Linked DNA regions of Homo sapiens: region 2 is linked to region 1. Evidence: promoter capture Hi-C in 16 types of primary human blood cells and fetal thymus (Javierre and others, 2016). All regions are on one chromosome and are shown on one strand. Each heading gives the region's core, a stretch centred on a gene start or on the middle of the fragment in contact. The rest is flanking DNA. Distances are from core to core; before and after follow the strand shown. Region 1 holds the start of FRMD4A-AS3 (FRMD4A antisense RNA 3). Region 2 overlaps FRMD4A (FERM domain containing 4A).

Evidence for each region. The method cuts DNA at HindIII sites, captures the fragments that hold promoters and counts their contacts. A CHiCAGO score of 5 or more calls a contact.
Region 2: a contact is called between a fragment that was not itself captured here and the fragment with the promoter of FRMD4A-AS3 in region 1, in 2 of 17 cell types (activated CD4 T cells and endothelial precursors). The highest score is 6.1, in activated CD4 T cells.

Annotation. Positions count from the first base shown.
Region 1 is chr10:14,071,916-14,076,067 of GRCh38, reverse strand. It overlaps FRMD4A-AS3 (FRMD4A antisense RNA 3), which reads right to left and starts at 1,784. Exons shown (of 3, transcript NR_120638.1): 1 at 1,242-1,784. All of the region lies in intron 2 of FRMD4A (FERM domain containing 4A), which reads left to right. The HindIII fragment of the contact is 2,533 bases long and covers 202-2,734 here.
Region 2 is chr10:13,781,194-13,785,426 of GRCh38, reverse strand. FRMD4A (FERM domain containing 4A) reads left to right here. Exons shown (of 25, transcript NM_018027.5): 6 at 2,421-2,505. Among named protein-coding and RNA genes, the nearest start is that of PRPF18, 200 kb to the right of the region's middle. The HindIII fragment of the contact is 4,685 bases long and covers 280-4,233 here.

The DNA.
Region 1 (4,152 bases), core at 535-3,034:
GTGAGCAGCGGAAATAAAACAGAGTTGCCATCAACTAAGGTCAGGTTCTTCTGGTCAATGTTCCATCCTCCTGTGGTTCAAAATAGATGCTACATTACCATGAACATGAGAGTTAGGCCAAGTTCTGTCCAACATGCAGACATTAGGAAAAAGCAAGCACAGACACAATCACACAATCTCTTCCTGTAACTGGGGGAAGCTTCTCTCTCCGGCTTTATGACAATGCAGAAATATCATCAGATGTGGTTTGTTGATTCCTAGATTAATGGTTTATATATATGTGTGTGTGTGTGCATATACATATGTGTGTGTATAAATATAAAATATACACACACACTATATGTATACACACATACTATACAGCATATGGATATAAAGGTATACACATAATACAGAAATTATACCCACACATGCTTATATTTGCCTATATTTAAGAAATTTGCATCATGCACAGCCAGTGAAACTTTACGCTTTCATATCTAAGCCATTTCAGCTCAGGTTAGGCTAAAGAATACTTTTTCACTGTTGGTTTTGAGAAGCAACATGATATGTTGGAAGGAGCAACGACAGAAAGAGATAGGCACAGGTTCCAGTTCTGTCCCTGTTCCTAGTGCCCAGGAAGGCTACGTAATCTCTATAGACCTTGGTCTCCTGATTTGGAAAATAGAAATAATAAACCACACACACATCATGTTGTTCTAACAGTTAAACATGGTTGTGGAGGTCAAGCATTTAACATGTGTCTGGATCCATTAGGTGTTAAGAAAATAATATGTCCTCCCCTTTCCTCTTCTCAATATAGTAAAATAATCAGATGAGCAGCATTTCACCAGGACATAAAGTGCTTACAACTGGAAGGAAAAACCATTTTTCAAGGTGATGTAGACCATTTATTGTTTTTATGTAAATGTGATTGTAACTTAAAACAAGCTGTATCTAGTGACCAGTGGTGACCTTACAGTGTCTTTTCTTGGCAGTGCTACGTTAGCACTGGAAACTGGTTCAAGTTACCATAGTTTGCTTGCTTTTTTAATTCATAAGGACATCTTTCTTTGATTCTACTCTATGAAACATAGACTGTCAACTAATTCTGGGTAATCTCTTCTCCCTACCTGCAGGATTTTCTGTATTACAAGCTCTGGTAGTATCTAGATTAAACCATCTAAGAGTAAATTCCTGGAAGTCAAGGTCAGAGAGCTTTTCTTACACAGCCTCCCATCACCCAATCCACCATGGCTTACCAGGGTTATCCTCTTAAAATTCCCTCCTGTCCTGTATGAGTCTCCTCAGTGGAGTCCGTCTCCATTCCAGCTGTGTGTAGCCATAAGTTTGACAAATCAACGAGTTCCTGGACACCTTCCAGAATCTGTGGAATTTGAGTCCGGCAGCGACTCAAAAATGGTAAGGGGGAGGAGCTAGTTTTACAGCCAAACATGCGTGCAGATTAAATCAGTGCCCTGCCAGATGAAATGCTTGCCCTTCTACGTGTTCCTGAGGCGTGACCCTCTGAAAGCATGAATCCCCATGGGCATTGCGCCAGGACACAGGAATCCTGCTGCTCAGCACAGCAGTTCATAGCATTCACAGCGTCTGCCATGTCGTTTCAACTGTTGATTCTGATTGCTGTTGCTTTTATCGTCTCGGCATATCCAACACTGCAGCTATGAAATAGCTGATAATTCATCTCGTTGAAGACCCAGGTCTTAAACATTTGCACCATCTGAATCTGACCCTCAGGTCTGGACAAGTAGAGGCCTGTAGCATGGAACCTGGGTCGTGCCGAGTGGGCACAACCTTGGAGCATACATCCCCCTCCCCCATCCACTGCTTCATTATTTGCCGTCTCCATGGAAACCCCATTCTGTACTGTCAGAACTCACCTTGGCCACCTTTGTACTTACCACCTAAGCACTTTCTTGGTGCTATGGTACTACATATGAAACAAAAAAAATTTTTTTTGAGACTATCTTGCTCTGTCATCCAGGCTGGAGTGCAGGGGCACGATCTCAGCTCTGTTCAGCCTCTGCCTCCAGGTTTCAAGCAATTCTCCTGCCTCAGCCTCCCGAGTAGCTGGGATTACAGGCACACACCACCATGCCTGGCTAAATTTTGTATTTTAGTAGAACCAGAGTTTCACTATGTTGCCCAGTCTAGTCTTGAACTCCTGCCCTCAAGTGATCCTCCCACCTCAGCCTTCCAAAGTGCTGGGATTACAGACATGAGCCACCGCCCTATGCAAAATTTAAAAGGAACTTTTGGTGACCCAATTTATACAGGGCAACCTCCAGTCTTTTAACACCTAAGTTATTAGGGATTTCATCTTGACCAGTGGGTAGGTCACAACAGGATCCCGGTGGTGGTGAAAAACCCATGAACACGACACATTCATACCCCTGGACTTCCCCTCACTCCGTTCGCTTCTTCTACAGCAGCCCTTGGACAAGCAAAGACAATGCCAACAACATCAGCCATCATCCCTGAGATCTTTCCCATCATGGACACCAGCCAAGTAATAAGTGACCCCAGCCCCCAGTGTTATTTTGCTTTGGGAGGGTATATCCAGGGTCCTTGGTGTCTAGATTTATCCACACAACCACAAAACCAACCACACAAAGACTGATGGGCAGATTAAGTCAATCACCTAGGAACTCAAGGAATGGGACATTTCTTGCAGCAACTCAATGGATCTAATTCTTCATGACCTAGAACACCCTCCCTTCCCACCAAAGAAGCTTCCAGCTTCATCCCATCTGTCACCTTGTAGCCCTCCCTTCAGCTCCATTAACAAGCCAGCATCCAACTCGCCCTCACTCCCACTACTGCCCCCAGCCTACTAAAGGGACTACAAGAAATACACCAATTATTAAGAGCCCCAGGGAGGGCATATGAATAAAAGACACCACCTGTCACCAACCTCTGAGCTGAGAGATGGAGGTACCCTGGGTTTCCTGGACAGCTGGTAAGGGTGCAGGTTACAAGGGGTTCTCGTAGTGTATGTCTTGTTTTTGTTTCTTTTCTCTATTTCTAAAGCTATTATTTTTTTATCCCTTCTTTTTGGCTCTTTCTCTCTTTCCTTTCATATGAATTATAAACATATGTATATATTTCTCTGATAATCAGTATGCCTGGCTATACTTGACCAAGACTTTTGTTAAAGAAACAAACTTTATATCTGGGAAGTGCAGGTCTGGGGACTGAAAGGAAAGCTATTTTCCGGAAGCACGTTTTATTGCTTTTATGACTCAAATATCTCCATCTCACCTCATTTTCCTTTAAAGCTAAATATGTAGCAAATGGAGATGTACTGATATGGAATCTCAGTGGGAAATGATTGCAGACAAAAAGCTTATTAGCGTGGTTTCTTCTCTTCTAAAAAAACCCTCCCCTTTCCCAAAATAACTGATAAATGGTCCTTTGTGGAGATGGTTGTGATGCAGCTTCAACAGTTATGAAAACCCTGCTTTACATCTTGCTGGAAATGAGAGCATGCATCACAGTTCTGGATGGCAAATTTGGTGGCTTGCTTCTTGTGGTAACTTAACTGAGGCTCAGAAAGCGTTAGGCTTTAGAAGACAAGTTGACTCCAACTCACAGAATTTTAATCTTATAATATTTTCGACTTTTAATTTTCCAAATAATGTTTATAAAGTAGAAGGACGGAGGATATGTGAATCCAACTCTGTTCCCAAAATGGTATAGCCACGGTTGTTATTTTTGGCTTTTTCTTCTTAATATCTTCACTTGGCTTTTTGAGGATATTATCTAGAGAAGTAAGAACTTCTGACTTCTCAAGGCCCCATTTGTGCCTGAACTCAGCCGAGCATCTCCGTGACCCTAAATTGCCTCGTGTCTTCATATCCATTTAGCCATAAAACTCTCGTTGTTCAGCTGATCTCAACTAGATATCCAGAAGAAAGCAGTCTTATTAAACATTCATCATAAAGAATGAATGGTCAATTGACTTGGGCCTTCCCAAGAGAATTTTTACTTTAAGAAGGAAGTTGTTAACATAAATCAATGTCTAATAGGTGGAATTTTAGGTATCAATATCAACATTTATTGAAGGCTTATTAAATGTTGGTCACAGTCCTCTGTGCTTTGTAGTAAAGTCACAGAATTAAGAGAAGCAGCCTTGCAACACGGGGAAGGAAA
Region 2 (4,233 bases), core at 1,373-3,872, 290 kb after region 1:
CCTGCTCCAGAAGCAGGGGGCAGGTGCTTGGCAGGGGCAGGGGTTATGGGCAGAGATCAGCCAGTCCATTAATTTTCAGGCTTTACAAGTATGAGGACCACTGCGTAATTCCTCCAAATTTTGTAGAACCTGAGATGATAAGAATTGTACTAATGATATCTGTGGATTGAGAAAATTTAATGTCTGAAGTTACTCCAAATTCACTCACCAATTTCAAAAAAACTTGAATTGTATTCATCACAGCAGCCTCTGCACACATTTGAAAAATGATAGAAAGCTTTATTTATTTATTTAGTGTGTAGACAAGAGGTTGCAAGCTGGTGGGCCATGGGCTTGATGTAGCCTACAGACGTGGGTTTTTATCTTCATGTTTATGCAACAGTAGCATTATTATCCTTCAGGTATGGTAAAAGATACTTTTTTTTTTTTTTTTTTTGAGATAGAGTCTCCCTCTGTTGTTCAGGCTGGAGTGCAGTGGCACCATCTCGGCTCGCTGCAACCTCCCCCTCCTGGGTTCAAGCGATTCTTCTGCCTCAGCCTCCCAAGTAGCTGGGACTACAGGCACCCACACCCACCCCTGGCTAATTTTTGTATTTTTAGTAGAGACAGGGGTTTCACCATGGTGGCCAGGCTGGTTTCGAACTCCTGACCTCAGGTGATTCCCCCCACCTCAGCCTCCCAAAGTGCTGGGATGACAGGTGTGAGCCACCGCGCCTGGCCAATTATGGATAAATCCTTTTATCTTTTACCATACCTGAAGGATAACGCTACCATTGAGCTTTCCTTTCTAAAAAGACACATGAGGTCCTGTATCTCCAGTGTAGGAACTCTCCTCCTCTTCCATTTCCCAGTGGAATCTAAAAGTATCATTTGAAGCTGGACATTCCAAGTTGTTGCCCCTCAGGTGATTGTATTGATTAGAAGAATTCATTTTTAAATTAATTACTATAAATGAATAGAACTTCTTGAAGCTAAGGGCATCAGTTTGTTCACCTTATACGATGTTGGTCTCTTGTTTTTGCTGCTGCTGTTGTTGTTTACATTGTAGTCAGTTTCCAATATTTAAAAACCAGTGGACTTCTTAGGTAGAGAACCACTTCTTCTTTTACGGTCTGAAGAACAGAAGCCCAGCAGGATGATGTGACTGCCCTGAGTCACACAGAGCTGGGGACTCCATCACTGCTCTCTGACTCCCTCCAGAGGATTCTGGCCCTCAGATTATAACACTATTCTAGAAAACTGTAGTACTTGTTTCTTCTCATTTCACCTTCCTCACCTTCTGCCTCTTCTTGGTGAACCCAGTTTCCAAGAGCCCCAGGTACCCAGCACCCTCCTAGTCCACCCTAAGGGTTGCTACACCTGCTCAGAACCTTCTTCCCTCCAAGATGTTGCATTTCAACCTTTCCCCTCTCTTCCTTTCAACTCCTAGTCCTTCAGTGCGGCTGGTCATTAGACAGTACAAGCGCATTATCTCATTAAAGAATTTAATAAACTCCAAAGTCAATATTATAAAGGCACATTTAGTGTAAACTTAAATAATGGCAGCATGTTTCATCTTGAAAATATCTATAAGCTCCATCTAGATGAAATCCGATTCTCATTTGGCTTAATATGCATTCATATCACAGTGTTAAGAGCACTTAGCATAGCTCTCCGAATGTGCAGAAATCAAATCACACTTCACCACCTTCGGGAGTAGTAGTAACCATTTCAAAGAAAGCTGTGATTAAGAAGAAATTATCTTTTAAAAATCCAACTTGGCTGGGCACAGTGGCTCACATCTATTACCCCAGCATTTCGGGAGGCTGAGGTGGGCAGATAATTTGAGCCCAGCCTGAGCAACAAAGGAAGACTCCGTATCTACAAAAAAAAAAAAAAATTAGGCGTGGTGGTATGCAACTGTAGTCTCAGCTGCTCAGGAAGCTGAGGCGGGAAGGTTGCTTGAGCCTGGGAGGTCAAGGCTGCAGTAAGCCATGCACCACTGCACTCCAGCCTGGACAACAGAGCGAGACCCTGTCTAAAAAAAGAAAAAAAAGGAGAAGAAAAGAAAATCCAACTCAATGACAATTTAGGACAAACAAGCAATGTGATGAAAACAAATAACATTATGTAAAATTATAAAGCAGATAGGACAAAGAAATCAGAGGCCTAGTTTTAGAATTTGTTCTTACAAATTGGTGGTAGACCCAGTTCTTTGGTTATGGTGAGGCCCATTAGGCGTGACCCTAAGCCACTATCAAAACTCCAAAAACAGTTTGTCCTCCCTAGGGAATCATAGAAAAACCATGGATGGTGCCTTTTTCCTTTGTTTATTTAGGATGGGGAATGCCAGCTTTCATCTCAAATCATGTAGCTCAAGAGAGCACTTTATTTTCTGCACCTGCTGTTTCTGTGGTTCACGCACCATTTTTCTCTTTCAGGTTCTATATAGAAAGCATTTCATACCTGAAGGATAATGCTACCATTGAGCTTTTCTTTCTGAACGCGAAGTCCTGCATCTACAAGGTAGGAACTCCCTCTCCCTCAATTTCCCTCTGAAACCTGAAAGTATCATTTGAAGCTGGAAATTCCAAAGTGTTACCCCTTAGGCCATTTTATTGATTAGGAGAAGTCATTTATAAATTAATTACTATAAATAAATGGAATGTTATGAAGCTAACGGCACCATTTAATAATGTGATTCCTGACCCGGCGCGCTGGCTCACGCCTGTAATCCCAACACTTTGGGAGGCCGAGGCGGGTGGATCACGTGGTCAAGAGATTGAGATTATCCTGGCCAACGTGGTGAAACCCTGTCTCTACTAAAAATATAAAAATTAGCTAGGCATGGTGGCACATGCCTGTAGTCCCAGCTACTTGGGAGGGTGAGGCAGGAGAATTGCTTGAACCTGGGAGGTGGAGGTTGCAGTGAGCTAAGATCACGCCACTGCACTCCAGCCTGGTGACAGGCGGAGACTCCATCTCAAAAAAAAAAAAAAGGAATAATAATAATAATAATAATAATGTGATTCCTTTGATCCATGGCTGTGTTTCTGGCTCTGTGGACATGTTTCCTAACCTTATTTTAAAGGTCTCCTGATTTTAAAGATTTCTTTGTCAACTGAGACAAAGGTGAAAAGCCTAGACAAGTATGACAAATGCACCAGTCAACTTAGACAGGTCTTGCAGATAGGAATGAGCTTCTTATAACCAAATACGTGTATATTTGACCATTTTTAGTTGGTCTAGCAGCATCTTTCAAAGGGACGCTATTGTCACTTTGAGACAGTTTCTTTTTTAAAAAAAATTGTAAAATGCACATACATTTACTATCTTAACCATTTTGGAAAATATTTTTATATTTCCATAGGTTTTTGGGGAACAGGTGGTATTTAGTTACATGAGTAAGTTCTTTAGTTGTGATTTGTGAGAATTTGGTGCACCCTTCACTCGAGCAGCATACACGGAAGTCAGTTTGTAGTCTCCGCCATTTTTAAGTGTGCAGTTCAGCGGCATTCAGTACACTCACAATGTTGTATAACCATCCCCACCGTCATTCACCCAAGAGCTCTTTTCATCTGCTAAACTGAAACTCTGTACTCATTAAACAACTTCCCCTTCCCCGTTTTCCTCAGCCACTGGCAACCACTACTTTTTGTCTCCATGAATTTAACCACTCTAGTACTTCATATAAGTGGAATCATATATATTTGTCCTTTTGTGTCTGGCTTACTTTACCTAGCATAATGGCCTCAAGGTTCATCCATGTTGGCTGTGTGTGGTGGCTCATGCCTGTAATCCCAGCACTTTGGGAGGCCGAGGCAGGCGGATCACCTGAGGTCAGGAGTTTGAGACTAGCCTGGCCAACATGGCGGAACCCCATCTCTATTAAAAATACAAAAATTAGCCAGATGTGGTGTTTTGTGTCTGTGATTCTAGGTATTTGGGAGGCTGAGGCAGGAAAATCTCTTGAACCTGGGAGGTGGAGGTTACAGTGAGCCGAGATCATACCACTGCACTCCAGCCTGGGCAACAGAGCAAAACTCTGTCTCAGAAAAAAAAAAAAAAAAAAAAAAAAAGGTTCATCCATGTTGTAGCGTGTATCAGAATTTCCTTCCTTTTTTTTTTTTTTTTTTTTTTTAATTTTTAAGACAGGGTCTCTCTCGCCCAGGCTGGAGTTCAGTGGTGCAATCTTGGCTCACTGCAACCTCCACCTTCTGGGTTCAAGTGATCCTCCTACTTCACCCTCCTAAG